2 separate regions of the Homo sapiens genome follow, and region 1 is linked to region 2. The links are contacts of gene promoters, found by promoter capture Hi-C in blood cells and fetal thymus (Javierre and others, 2016). All regions are on one chromosome and are shown on one strand. Each heading gives the region's core, a stretch centred on a gene start or on the middle of the fragment in contact. The rest is flanking DNA. Distances are from core to core; before and after follow the strand shown.

The links. The method cuts DNA at HindIII sites, captures the fragments that hold promoters and counts their contacts. A CHiCAGO score of 5 or more calls a contact.
Region 1: the fragment with the promoter of ARB2A here is called in contact with the fragment with the promoter of TMEM161B in region 2 in 1 of 17 cell types (naive CD4 T cells); the score reaches 6.0 in naive CD4 T cells.

What each region holds. Positions count from the first base shown.
Region 1 is chr5:94,109,703-94,115,433 of GRCh38, forward strand. ARB2A (ARB2 cotranscriptional regulator A) reads right to left here and starts at 1,961. Exons shown (of 11, transcript NM_032042.6): 1 at 1,809-1,961. LOC105379087 (a long non-coding RNA gene) reads left to right here and starts at 2,000. Exons shown (of 7, transcript XR_001742441.2): 1 at 2,000-2,037; 2 at 2,623-2,702; 3 at 3,853-3,963; 4 at 5,045-5,099. The HindIII fragment of the contact is 15,548 bases long and covers 1-3,119 here.
Region 2 is chr5:88,265,620-88,271,099 of GRCh38, forward strand. TMEM161B (transmembrane protein 161B) reads right to left here and starts at 3,226. Exons shown (of 12, transcript NM_153354.5): 1 at 3,102-3,226. The coding sequence starts at 3,104. It overlaps TMEM161B-DT (TMEM161B divergent transcript), which reads left to right and starts at 3,263. Exons shown (of 3, transcript NR_039995.1): 1 at 3,263-3,408; 2 at 4,907-4,966. RefSeq lists enhancers at 3,013-3,512, 3,203-3,392. The HindIII fragment of the contact is 4,710 bases long and covers 1-4,300 here.

The DNA of each region.
Region 1 (5,731 bases), core at 711-3,210, 5.8 Mb after region 2:
CTCAGTGCCTTTGTACTAGGCCAACTCATTCCTCCATACTTGCGGAGCTCACTCCCTCATTTCATTCAGATCTCCACTCAAGTGTTCCCTTATCAGAGAGGGTGAGCTTACCACCCTATCTAAAATAGCATCCTCTATCATTCTCTCTCCCCTTAATTTATTTTTCTCTATACCTCTTTTTTTTTTTTTTTTTTTTTCTGGAGACGGAGTCTCGATCTGTCACCCAGGCTGGAGTGCAGTGGCATGATGTCGGCTCACTGCAACCTCCGCCTTCCCGGTTCAAGCAATTCTCCTGCCTCAGCCTCCAGAGTAGCTGGGAATACAGGCGCACGCCACCACACCCAGCTAATTTTTTTGTATTTTAGTAGAGACGGGGTTCACCGTGTTGCCCAGGCTGGTCTCAAACTCCAGGGATCAGGCAATCCGTCCGCCTCGGCCTCCCAAAATGCTAGGATTACAGGCGTGAGCCACCGCGCCCTGCCTTTCTCTATACCTCTTAATCACTACTTGTTATATATTTACTTGTTAATTATACGTCTCCATCCACTAGAATGTAAGTTCCAGGAGCAAAAGGACTTTCTATTTTGTTTACTGCTGTCTTCCCATCACCTGAACACTATCCGGCACACTGAAGGTTGCCAGTAAATACTTGCTAAATGGATAAACAAGTGGATGCTCATGGTTTCATAGATAATATTTCCCTCTTGGCCTTGGTACTATTTATTCTACCATATGGAGCAGCCATAGCCTGAAAGCATCCAGAGCATCCTTAACTTTTCAGCGTAGGATTCACTGGTTAAGTGGAAGTAAGGCCTAGTTGAAAATTCTGAAAGAAGCCTGGTACCAGCACTGTCACTGAGGCCTTAACGAAGCAGATCCAAAAATACTCTCTTACTCAGTTTCTACATTCGCTAAATGTATACAGTGTAACCGTCCCTCGCATTGTAGGATAAAGAATACACCTTATCAATGAGATATTTGTTATGCAGTATATGGCATGCGTTAATGCAAACGATGTCATGTACTACATTAAAAAATCGCACTGATATTTTGATAAATATACAATGCACTTGTAGATAAAAACCAGAGAATTTTTCCCTCTACAGCTTTTTTGAGGATTTGGGAGAAATGGACAAATGCAACAACATTGCATGTCATTAAATACAGTATATCCAAACACAACGAGTTTCTTGGCCCAACAGATATAGACCCTGGAGCACTATAAGAATATGTTAAACACCTGGATGAGGGAAAGAGAAGACTGCTTCCAAAACATACTTACTTTATTTCAAAGTCAAAAGTATTCAACACTTAATTCATACTGCATCCCAGAGAAACGTCCCACCCGCGCCCATGCATGTTACAAGTTTTGAGAGCATTTTATAACTGCACTTTAATCCCTCTGCAGTGAATGACTTCTGGTAAAGCGCTGGCAGTTAATAATACTTTTTGTAGAAAAAAAAATTAATACAACAACCACAATACCTCCACTCGCAAGAAAGCGGAGGAGGGCCCATTACTCTGTCTCCAGGGACTCCCAGAATCCCGTACGCCCCGACATAAGGAAAGTCATCCAGGGAACACACACGTCGCTCCCGCCTAGAGAGTGGAAATGGAACATGGGACCTGCCCATCAGCGGAGGCCCAGACACAAGTCAGAGGTGTCCGCAGGGAATGCAGCGTGGTTCCAGACAGCCTCGGTCCCCAGGGCCAGCGACCACCGCCTGAGACCGACCCAGGCCAGCCCCCTCCTGATTTCGACCCGGGCCTGCCCCCGGAGCTCACATCCCCGCAAACGGCAGTCCTACCTGAGCTCTGCCCCCAGCCACAGGGCTGAGGGGGCAGGCGGGAGGAGGCGTGGCCTTCCAGTTCGCCAGTCGAACTCCCTCGTGCGGTTGTTATGACTTTCCCTCTCGGGATCCGCGCCCCGACCAAGTTCGAGTTGCACTTCCGGGGTCTTCAGGAGATTGATACGTCATTACGCACTTGACGGCAGCGGCGGCGACAACCCGGAAACGGGCGGGGCGCGGGCCCTGGGTAGGTTCCTGTGGTATTAGGTGGACTGGAGAAAGAGGCCCGCGTGAATTAAGTGTAGTTCTCTTATGCACTGGCGGACTCTGGTCGCCCTTCCTTGTGAAGGCTGCCTGGGTAGCCGTAGAGGACGAGGCCACTCTAAAGCCTCGTTTTCCCAGCGGAATTTTAACTATTCTAAGGATGTCCTTACAGCCAGTTCCCCACTCCGCTACTCAGAGTGTGTCAGACTTTACCCTGTCCATTCAACTCCAGAAAAACCGGGAGGTCTAGATTCGGAAGATTAAATTTACCTTTGAATTAGGACATGTAAAATAGGAAGTTAATATTAGCATCCTAATGACAAAAGTTTTCTCGTTATCATACTTGACTCAAATGGGAATCTTACGGATATTAATGTTTTTTCCAGAAACAGGTTTGAAAGGTATTTCAAGGATAAATCTGGGGAAAGGGATGGAAGCAACTGATTTTTAATTTTTAGATAGTACTCTCAGAGCATTTATTTAGTCCAAAACTGTTAATTTAATGAATTAGGCTAAACTAGACGCTGGGGTAACAAAGCTGAGTTAGATACCCTCTCCTCTGAGGCAGCTAAAGAGAAGGAAAGTCTGGTGGCTGACAAGTAAACCAACAGTTATGTTCTTCAGAGAGGAGATCTCAGACTCTCTAAGGTATACTTCACTTCCACACTGTTTGTACTTTGCAAATGTACCCTGCCCCCTAAAATGTAAACTCACTGATGGTAGTGACATAATCTTGTCTTTTTAATGTATCCTCAACCATACAACAGTGCCTGTCCACAAAGTAGACAATAAATACTTATTGAATGACTGAATGATCACAGTGGTAAATAATAGATTGGGGAAATCTAGAAAAGTGTATAGGACAAGAAGAAAGTGGTGTAAGTAAGTGGCGGGAGATAAGGAGCAGTAAAAGGTGAGAGAATCCACTGGAGTTAGCCAGAACTGAGTACCTGAATGAATCTCGGGCATTGCAAGACTGTTAGGGCTTCATTTCCGGAAAGAACTCAAATGGTTTGTAGAGTGACACTTTATACTGAAGAGGAAGGCAACAGCCAGATTCTGAAAAGCTTTCTATGTCATGCTGAGTAATTTGATTTTCTGCTGCAGACAATTGGGGAAGCTGAAGGATTGTTGAACAGAGGAGGGAAACATTTTTATTTTGGTGGACTTTTGCAACAGTGACAGATTATATTAAAAAGATAAGGCTCCCAAAAATGTATAATCCCAGTTTAACCATGAGAAAAACATCAGACAAAATACCTGACCAGTACTACTCCAAACAGTTAAAGTCATGAAAAACAAGGAAAGTCTGAGAAACTGTCTGAGCCAAGAGGAGCCTAAAGAGACCAACTTTAATGTTGGATCCTGAAATAGAAATAGAACGTAAGTGAGAAAACTAGTGAAAATTGAATAAAAAAGTAACATTCCATTAAGAGAATATACCAATGTTTACATAAAATATGGAGATTGGTCAAAAGATGAGTGACATGACCTTTCAATATTTCCAGGATAGAGGCCCACTCAAGGGTTAGGGGAATGTACTTTGTTCAGTAGTAAACTATTGAACAAACATATGGGTGCTTCAGCCTGCAATTCCAGCTGGACTTACATGGGAATGAATGAGCCTTCAGATTGTTCCTGTCATTGAGTCAGCTGGGGTCCAAAATTTCATAAAGCAGAGACGAGCCATCCCCACTGTGCCCAGTTCTGAATTCCTGACCCACAGAAACAATTAGAGATAATGAAAATGATTCTTGTTACTTTAAGCCAGTAAATTTTGGAGTGATTTGTTTTTCAGCAAAAGAAACTAATAGCTGTATGACAACAGCCAAAGAGTAAATATCCTTTCAAGTCCAATCCTGCCTAAGATGTCAAAATCAAGAATGAAGAGGTTATGTGCTGAAACAGAGTGAGTCCTTTTCTCTCCTTACTCTACCCTAAATGGTAAACTCCTGCCTCAGCTGACCACAAAAATATCTTCTGCAAATCTGTGAGGAGAAAGGAGGGAAAGCAACAAAAATTGTATGTGGGCTTAGATGTTTTGTTAGAATTACAACAGCCCATGTGTAGCTTAGCAGAAACCATTACAATGATGACTACACAATATAGTACAAAAATGTCCCCTCATTTTAACCATAGTCATCTAAACTGTACAAGTTAGTTTATAATTTTAATTTATACATCTCTAGGGAAGCCAGAAACTTCAGTTTCTCTCCCCACCTCTCTTCTCTTGCACTTCAAAATCCTACTAAGATAAGGAAAAAGGAAAGGAGATTTGTTCCCTCCTGGCTAACAGCTGGTCCATCTTTGATCACTAGGATGATCAAAGAAATGTCCCTATACCATATTTTGCGTATCCTCCTCCTATTCCAGACCACTTCCTTGGGCATCTATCTTTTTATCAATCTACTCCCACCCTTCACATTAAATGATTTCAGTGACATACAGCAGACAGACACCTCCAAAAATACTAACAAGGCTACATGTTGTTCATTTAAGTTAAAAATAAAATTTAAACCTACTTATCATGACTAGGACTCAGTGCCAACATTTTGGCAGCTCAAGAAAATCCATTAAGGAAAATATTCTTAATTAGATGCTAAGGGCAAAGCTCTGTCCAAACTAACCAACTGTATTAGAATGAGGTCTGGATTCTGACTTAAATTTGGAGAATCAAGTAACATTCCTGCCCTTGCTCAAGCCCAAGCAGGAATGTGCTGTGGTTTGAATGTGTTCTCTAAAAATTCATGCATTGGAAACATAATTGCCATTGTAATAATATTAAGAAGTGAAGCTTTAAAGAGGTGATTTAGGTGATAGGGACTGTGCCCTCATAAAAGGATGAATGCCATTATTGTGGGAGTGGGTTAGTTATCATGGGAGTGAGCTCCTGATAAAAGGATAAATTTGGTCCCCATTTTCTCTCTGTCTTGTGCACTCTCACTACTCTGTCTCACCCTCTCTCCCCCTGTGATGCTTTCTGCCACAAGATGACCTTCACAAGATGCAGCCTCTGGATCTTGGACTTCCCCAGCCTCCAGAACTGTAAGCCAAATGAATCTCTTTGTTTATAAATTACCCAGTGTGTGGTATTCTTACAGCAGCAGAAAATGGACTAAGACAGTATGTGTGAAGTGTGGATAGTAATTACAACAAGTTCTGCCTTCTAGATTCAGTTTATATTTAAAGCCCAAAAAGTAGGATCATATAACCAAATAATTTCTAATGACCCCTCCAACAAAATGATTATTACTTGAAATCAACCCCCTATCACTTGTACTTTCCATCTAGATGCTGGGGACACAAAACTGAGTTAGACCCAAGAACACCCTTTTCATTATGCCTGGAATTTTTTTAAAATGAGAAAAGATAACATATCAGTGTTCAAAACATACTTTAAGAGAATTTCGAACAAAAAAACATAAAATAGCCTCTAGTTTGTGATGGAGACAATTTGTAGGTTGATATATTTACCTAGAGTTAGACAACCTGTGAGGTTTGAGGGCACAGTCTCTAAGGTGTCCCTGATTTCTGACACCAACTGCAAGTTTGGAGGGTTCCCAGAAACACCCTCAGGTTTGAAATTTTGCTAGAAGGTCTCACAGAACTCACTGAAAGCTGTTATCTTTACAGTTACCATTTATTACAAGGAAAGAATACAGACTAACATCAGCCAA
Region 2 (5,480 bases), core at 1,976-4,475:
CTACTACATGACCCAACCTGCTCTCAGTTAGAAATAATTTCTTTCCACTGTACTCTTTGAGCCTATTATATGTGTTTCTCTTATAGCATTTACACACTCTTCCCAACACTCCCCTCCACTCCCCTCAAAAAGAAAACTTTTCATCAAATCCAATTGATTATGGCAAAGGTTTATAACCTCCCCATGGCCTACTCTCCCACACCTGCCCACAAACCATTGTTCAATTACAGCAGTAAGTTACTACAGGATGATACACAGATGCAAGCCGTGATATCTGCAATTCCAGGAGCTAGCTCTAATCTACCTATCTTCCACAAATTAGCTTGAATGGTAGAAAGATTTATATTTGATCAAAGTTGGTCTGTAATTTTCAAAAAGGAAAGTGCAATAGAGCAAATGGCTTTATTCCATTAGTAAATTTCCTATAGACTTGTCTTCACAACAACTTGAAAGCATAAAAATTAAGCGTGAGTTCAGTATTTTCAGTCTGGATCATAATCCTATTCTCCTTCATTCATAATACAAAAACCTTGTTATAGGCACAGGTATCTATTGAGTATCGGTATACATAATGTATGAGAGAATGAGAGCACAGAATTAGTTTATCATTGATTAAAACAAGAATTAAATCAAAACATTCCAAGAGTTGTGTTCCATTCTGGAGCAGTATTTAAGACAGTAGTGAAAGACTTGGCCAAATATACAAAGATTCCAAGTACTATCTATGTGACTTATGAAAAAAATGAAAAAGAGAATGATAAAAGAAATCAAACTTAAGCCAAAATGGCATGGAAACAAAACAGTGGAAATCAGACTAACTTTTATTTAATCTGAAACATGTAACTATCCTCAAAAATGTTGAGTAGTCATGGAATCATAAATTTAAGAAGGTGCTTTAATACCCATCAAGTCCCACTTCTCTTACCCAGGAGGAATTTGGAACTCTTATCAAAATTGAGTGACTTTTCCAAATCCATATAACTAACAATGGGCAGAATCTGGGTCCTCTGGGGTCAATACTAATGTTCTTTTCATAATATCATTAGGCCCCAGCAATGCAAAACAAGTTCTGATTTCAACAAGCTGAATCCTCAATAAATTCAGCCCATGTTCACTTCATTTAATGGTTAAACTCTTCCCTTTGAAAAATTCCAAGCATTAACCACACTTGCATATACAGACATTATCAATTTCATAGCTGGGAAAGATAAAACTCAGCCAAGATAATTAGCTCAGAAATATAAGCACTTCCAGAAGGAAAAGAGCCAACTAGTTAGTTCCAAAATGACATTCAGAAAAACAGCATAAGATTACATTAGTTCCAAACATTAACCATCTCTTTTGAACCGACAGGATAAGCAGGATTCTACTTCTAGTATTCCAAAACACTGAGAACAAGTTCATGTTCAGCTTTTCTGTGACTATGATGAACTTAAGTATTTTAATTATACTTTACCTTCAACTTTTCAGACCAAAAAGTCAAAAATTAATCTTAAATTTAAAAAATGAAAATATGAGTTTTAGTCCAGACTGCCAAACTACTGTTACTTTAGAAAAATCACTGTCAATTTCTAGACCCCAGATTCTTTCTTCTGTAAAAATGGGGATGGAAGAGTGATTACTAGGCTTTGGTTTCTCCCAGTTCTGTTTTCCCTATCCTTGTCTAATTTCACTGATACAAAAGAAAAACAACTTTCTTAATACAAACCATATTATTCACTGAGGCTTAAAAAAAAAAACTTTAAAGAGATAGGTTATCTGGTAAAGTGCACCAGGAACTACATTATTTTGAAGGTCTTTGTTCTACATTCAGCTAAGTTTCTAAAAGTCATTCAAAAGCCAATCACCACACACATTAACTGAATGTTGGCAATATTTGGCCCTGAAAATATAAGACAAACTGAAGCTAAATTCCAGGACAGAAGCCTCTGCAAGTGAGGGTTTGAAATCTTGTATACGGTGAAGAAACTGACAATAATGAACTTCACCAGAGCCCCGTGATCTTGAAAAACAGCAAAGGTTAAGAAACCCCTTGCCCCCGTTTGTGTTCTGAGAAATTGGCTTACTGCAAAGAATCATCTTTCCTGTAGAACTTAGATAAGACTAAGGGTTGATCCATACCCCCCTACCCCTTGTTTACCTATAACAAGGCCATAACTAGACCCTTCTAATTCCCATCCTTTGCTTCGTAAATGACTTGCTGAAGTACCTGTCCCACAGATCAATCGGAACAAAATACTTATTAACCAAACTTTAAGATTCTCTTCTCTCGGGTACCTGAATTTTGTCCTTCCCTCAGTCTGAAACAACATATACAAACCTCTCCTAACAGCTCCTCCTCAGAATACATGGGCTCAGGGTAAAACATTATCTGGTTACTGCCGGATCATACCCATATTTTCATCCCAATTCCTGACATCTTATTTACCCCTACCAACAAAAGACAAACCCTTTCTGCCTAACCTTTAAGGTGCATGCAAATCTTACGGTCATTCTCCCTACTGCAACAGTTCCTTCAACCTTCCTCCACACCCCTGCAATATTCCTTTCGAATAAAGTCTGTCCTTACTAAACTCGGGTTTTTTATTTGACACCCTTTTCAATTATGAAATGGCTAAGTGTAAAGAATAAGGGGACTACCGTTTCTTTAAATGACAGGTGTTGATCTTATACAAGGAGACCCGTTGTGTCCACCTGGAGAGGCTAAAAGCATTTCTAAGATCTGAAGTTCTTGGCCACTGTTCCGCGGATGGAGAAGGGGGCGCAGAAGAGGTGACTGACCCGGCAAGGTCAACTCTGGGATCACCTGGCGCCACAGGCCATACACAGTAAATGGGCCATGAACAGGCAGGCTACCCAGTCCATACTCCCTGACAGATACGCCCCTGCCTCCGGCCCGCTAGTCTCCCAGACAGGTAGGCGTAATGCTGCTTCCTCAGGGGCTCAGACACCCTGAGATAGGTGGTGGGTCCTACCCAGCAGCTCATCCCAACGTCTCAACTCCATTCTGAGCAGAGCACCTGATGGCTCTTTTCACAGTACTGACCTCCCCGCCCTTTTCGCCCCACCGTTGTCACTCCTGCCCTCACAGAAGAACTCACCATGGCGCCTAGGATAGGTCGTGGACCAGACACCCTGGAGTTGCCGGGGCAGTCCCAAACCTCTTACCTCCCGGTCCTTGAGCCGAGAGACTCTCAAACAGCGAAAGAGAGGGTCTTCCGGCTCTGCCGGAAGTTGTGCGCGCGCGGGACAGGAAGTTCCTCCCTTCTCCAGAGCGCCGTCGACCCCACGCCACGCAGAGGTGAAGATACGCAGGACGTCCTCTAAAGCAACTTCCGTGGGTGCCAGGTTGTGGGCTGGGGGCGGTGCTGACCTTGAGAGAGCGGAGGAGGCGCAGGCGCAGCACAGGTACGTGGGCGGGCGGATCGTGGTGGCTGCGCTTGCGAGGACCCTGAGGTAGATTGGGTGGTTTCAACAGGAACGCATCCACTGTCTGAGAGGTGACGGAGGCACACGTTGGTGTGGGGAGCGGGAGGGGAGAGGGAGGGGGGCGGGTGGGGGGCGGGAGGGGGCCAGGGGTGGGAGTGAGGGTGCGCGATGGGAGTCGACTCCAGACCCAGGTGATTTAGAGAGAGTAAAGACCACCTTTGGCCGTCATTTTGTCTCAGCTTAACTGACGCCCTCTTGTTACCCTCTAGTTTTCCTGACTCGGTCCCTTATTAGCATATCCTCATTTCCACAGACCTGTCCGTCTGTTGCTTCTGTTCCCTGCCTTAGTGGGTACCGTAGCTCTACCCTCCTTCCGGGCAATGGAATCTCATAGTGAGAAGTTTCTTCACTATTCACAGGTGGCAATTGAAGCCGGAAGAACATCTACCAAGAGCAGAGAACCCAGGAAGAAAATTCTGCCTCTTTAATACGTTCCAATATGGACGTTTTCCATATAGATACCTATCTATATAGATAGATGCTCTGGGATCTGACGGTCCTGGACACCTGTATGGCTGTGTGCTGTGGTCTTTGCCTAGCCTGCGGTTCACTTTTGCTCTGGCCACCACCTCCCCTCATGTACAAACCGCGTCTCTGCTCTGCCAGTCTTGGCCCCCGTCAGGCAGCGGTTCACTCCCTCACCAGGGAAGTCTAGATAGATAGATATAGATAGATATCGATCGATAGATATAGATATATATATAGATAGATAGATAGGTAGATATATGGATAGATATAGATATTTGGATAGATATGTAGACGTCTATCTATAAATATATCGATATATCGGGGTTCTCAGCCATCCCAAAGAAGCTTGCACAGGGCCAGTTGCTTTATGTCAGGAAAAGGGACACAGACTGAGTGTATGAGGGTTTTTTTTTTCTATAGATGTATAGATATTTATATCAGATGCAAATAAGTGAAACTCTCATACAACTTTTAATTTTGTGTTTTTTCCAAACTCTATTCCATTCAACTTTTTCTGCCTTTTTATTTGATTATAATGAGACATCGTACTGGAGGCAGGCTTGAAATGGATATACAGAGCACTTTCAACCCAGAAATTTGTCTCACGACTTGGGGTCCTTACTTAAGTTGTAGCTGTTAGTAATTTCATCCATGAATTCACTTTGTGCCATAGTGTGATGTTTTGTTATGAAGTTGGAATTGGGAAGGGAAACTAGGAAGTTTTGGGAGAAGTTAAGAAGGTTGAGTAGGCAGGCGTTGTTATAGATATTAAATTTCACCCTGCTTATCAAAGTACCTGGAGCGTATGGTATCCAAGCTGTAAATGGCCCAAAGGAATCGGGGTTCTCAGCCATCCAAAAGAAGCATGCACAGGGCCAGTTATTTTATGTCAGGAAAGGGGACACAGACTGAGTGTATGAGGGTTTTTTTTTTTGTTTTTTTTTTTTAGTTTAAACTTGATTTTGTGAGGGGACGAACAGCGTGACAATTAAAAGAAGATCTGGGAATCGTAAGTACTGACAGAATACCTGGAGGGAAGGTGGGACTGGAGAATAGTTTGTGAAACAGATCCTGCTGAGGATGAATCCAGAACTTCCTGAAGGGTTCCGCTTCTGCTGTGTAGGGACAAGGTTGTAAATAGACAAGCCACAGGCACCTGCAAATGGTAAGTGTGGTAGAGAGGGGCTGGAATTGCCTGTTGGTGTATCTGTGGGAAGCAGCTGCTATCCTTGAGGAAGAAAAGATGGAGAAGGTAAGTGGCTATCAACCTGTCAGAGACAACACATTCTGTGAAGTTGTACTCTTTCATTTCTGACACTGTGGTTCTTAATATCTGTCCTAAACCTGGCAGTCATTGAGGTTCGCAAAGTATCTCCTTCTATGTGACAGTAAAACTGGAATTACTATCAGAATGGAATCCATTCCTGCTAGAGTAAAACCATGAAAAGAAATCGCAGTTTTGATTATCTGCTTATCATTTTTAATAGATCACAGAGTGCAGTGTTCCTTATTTGTTGTATGGC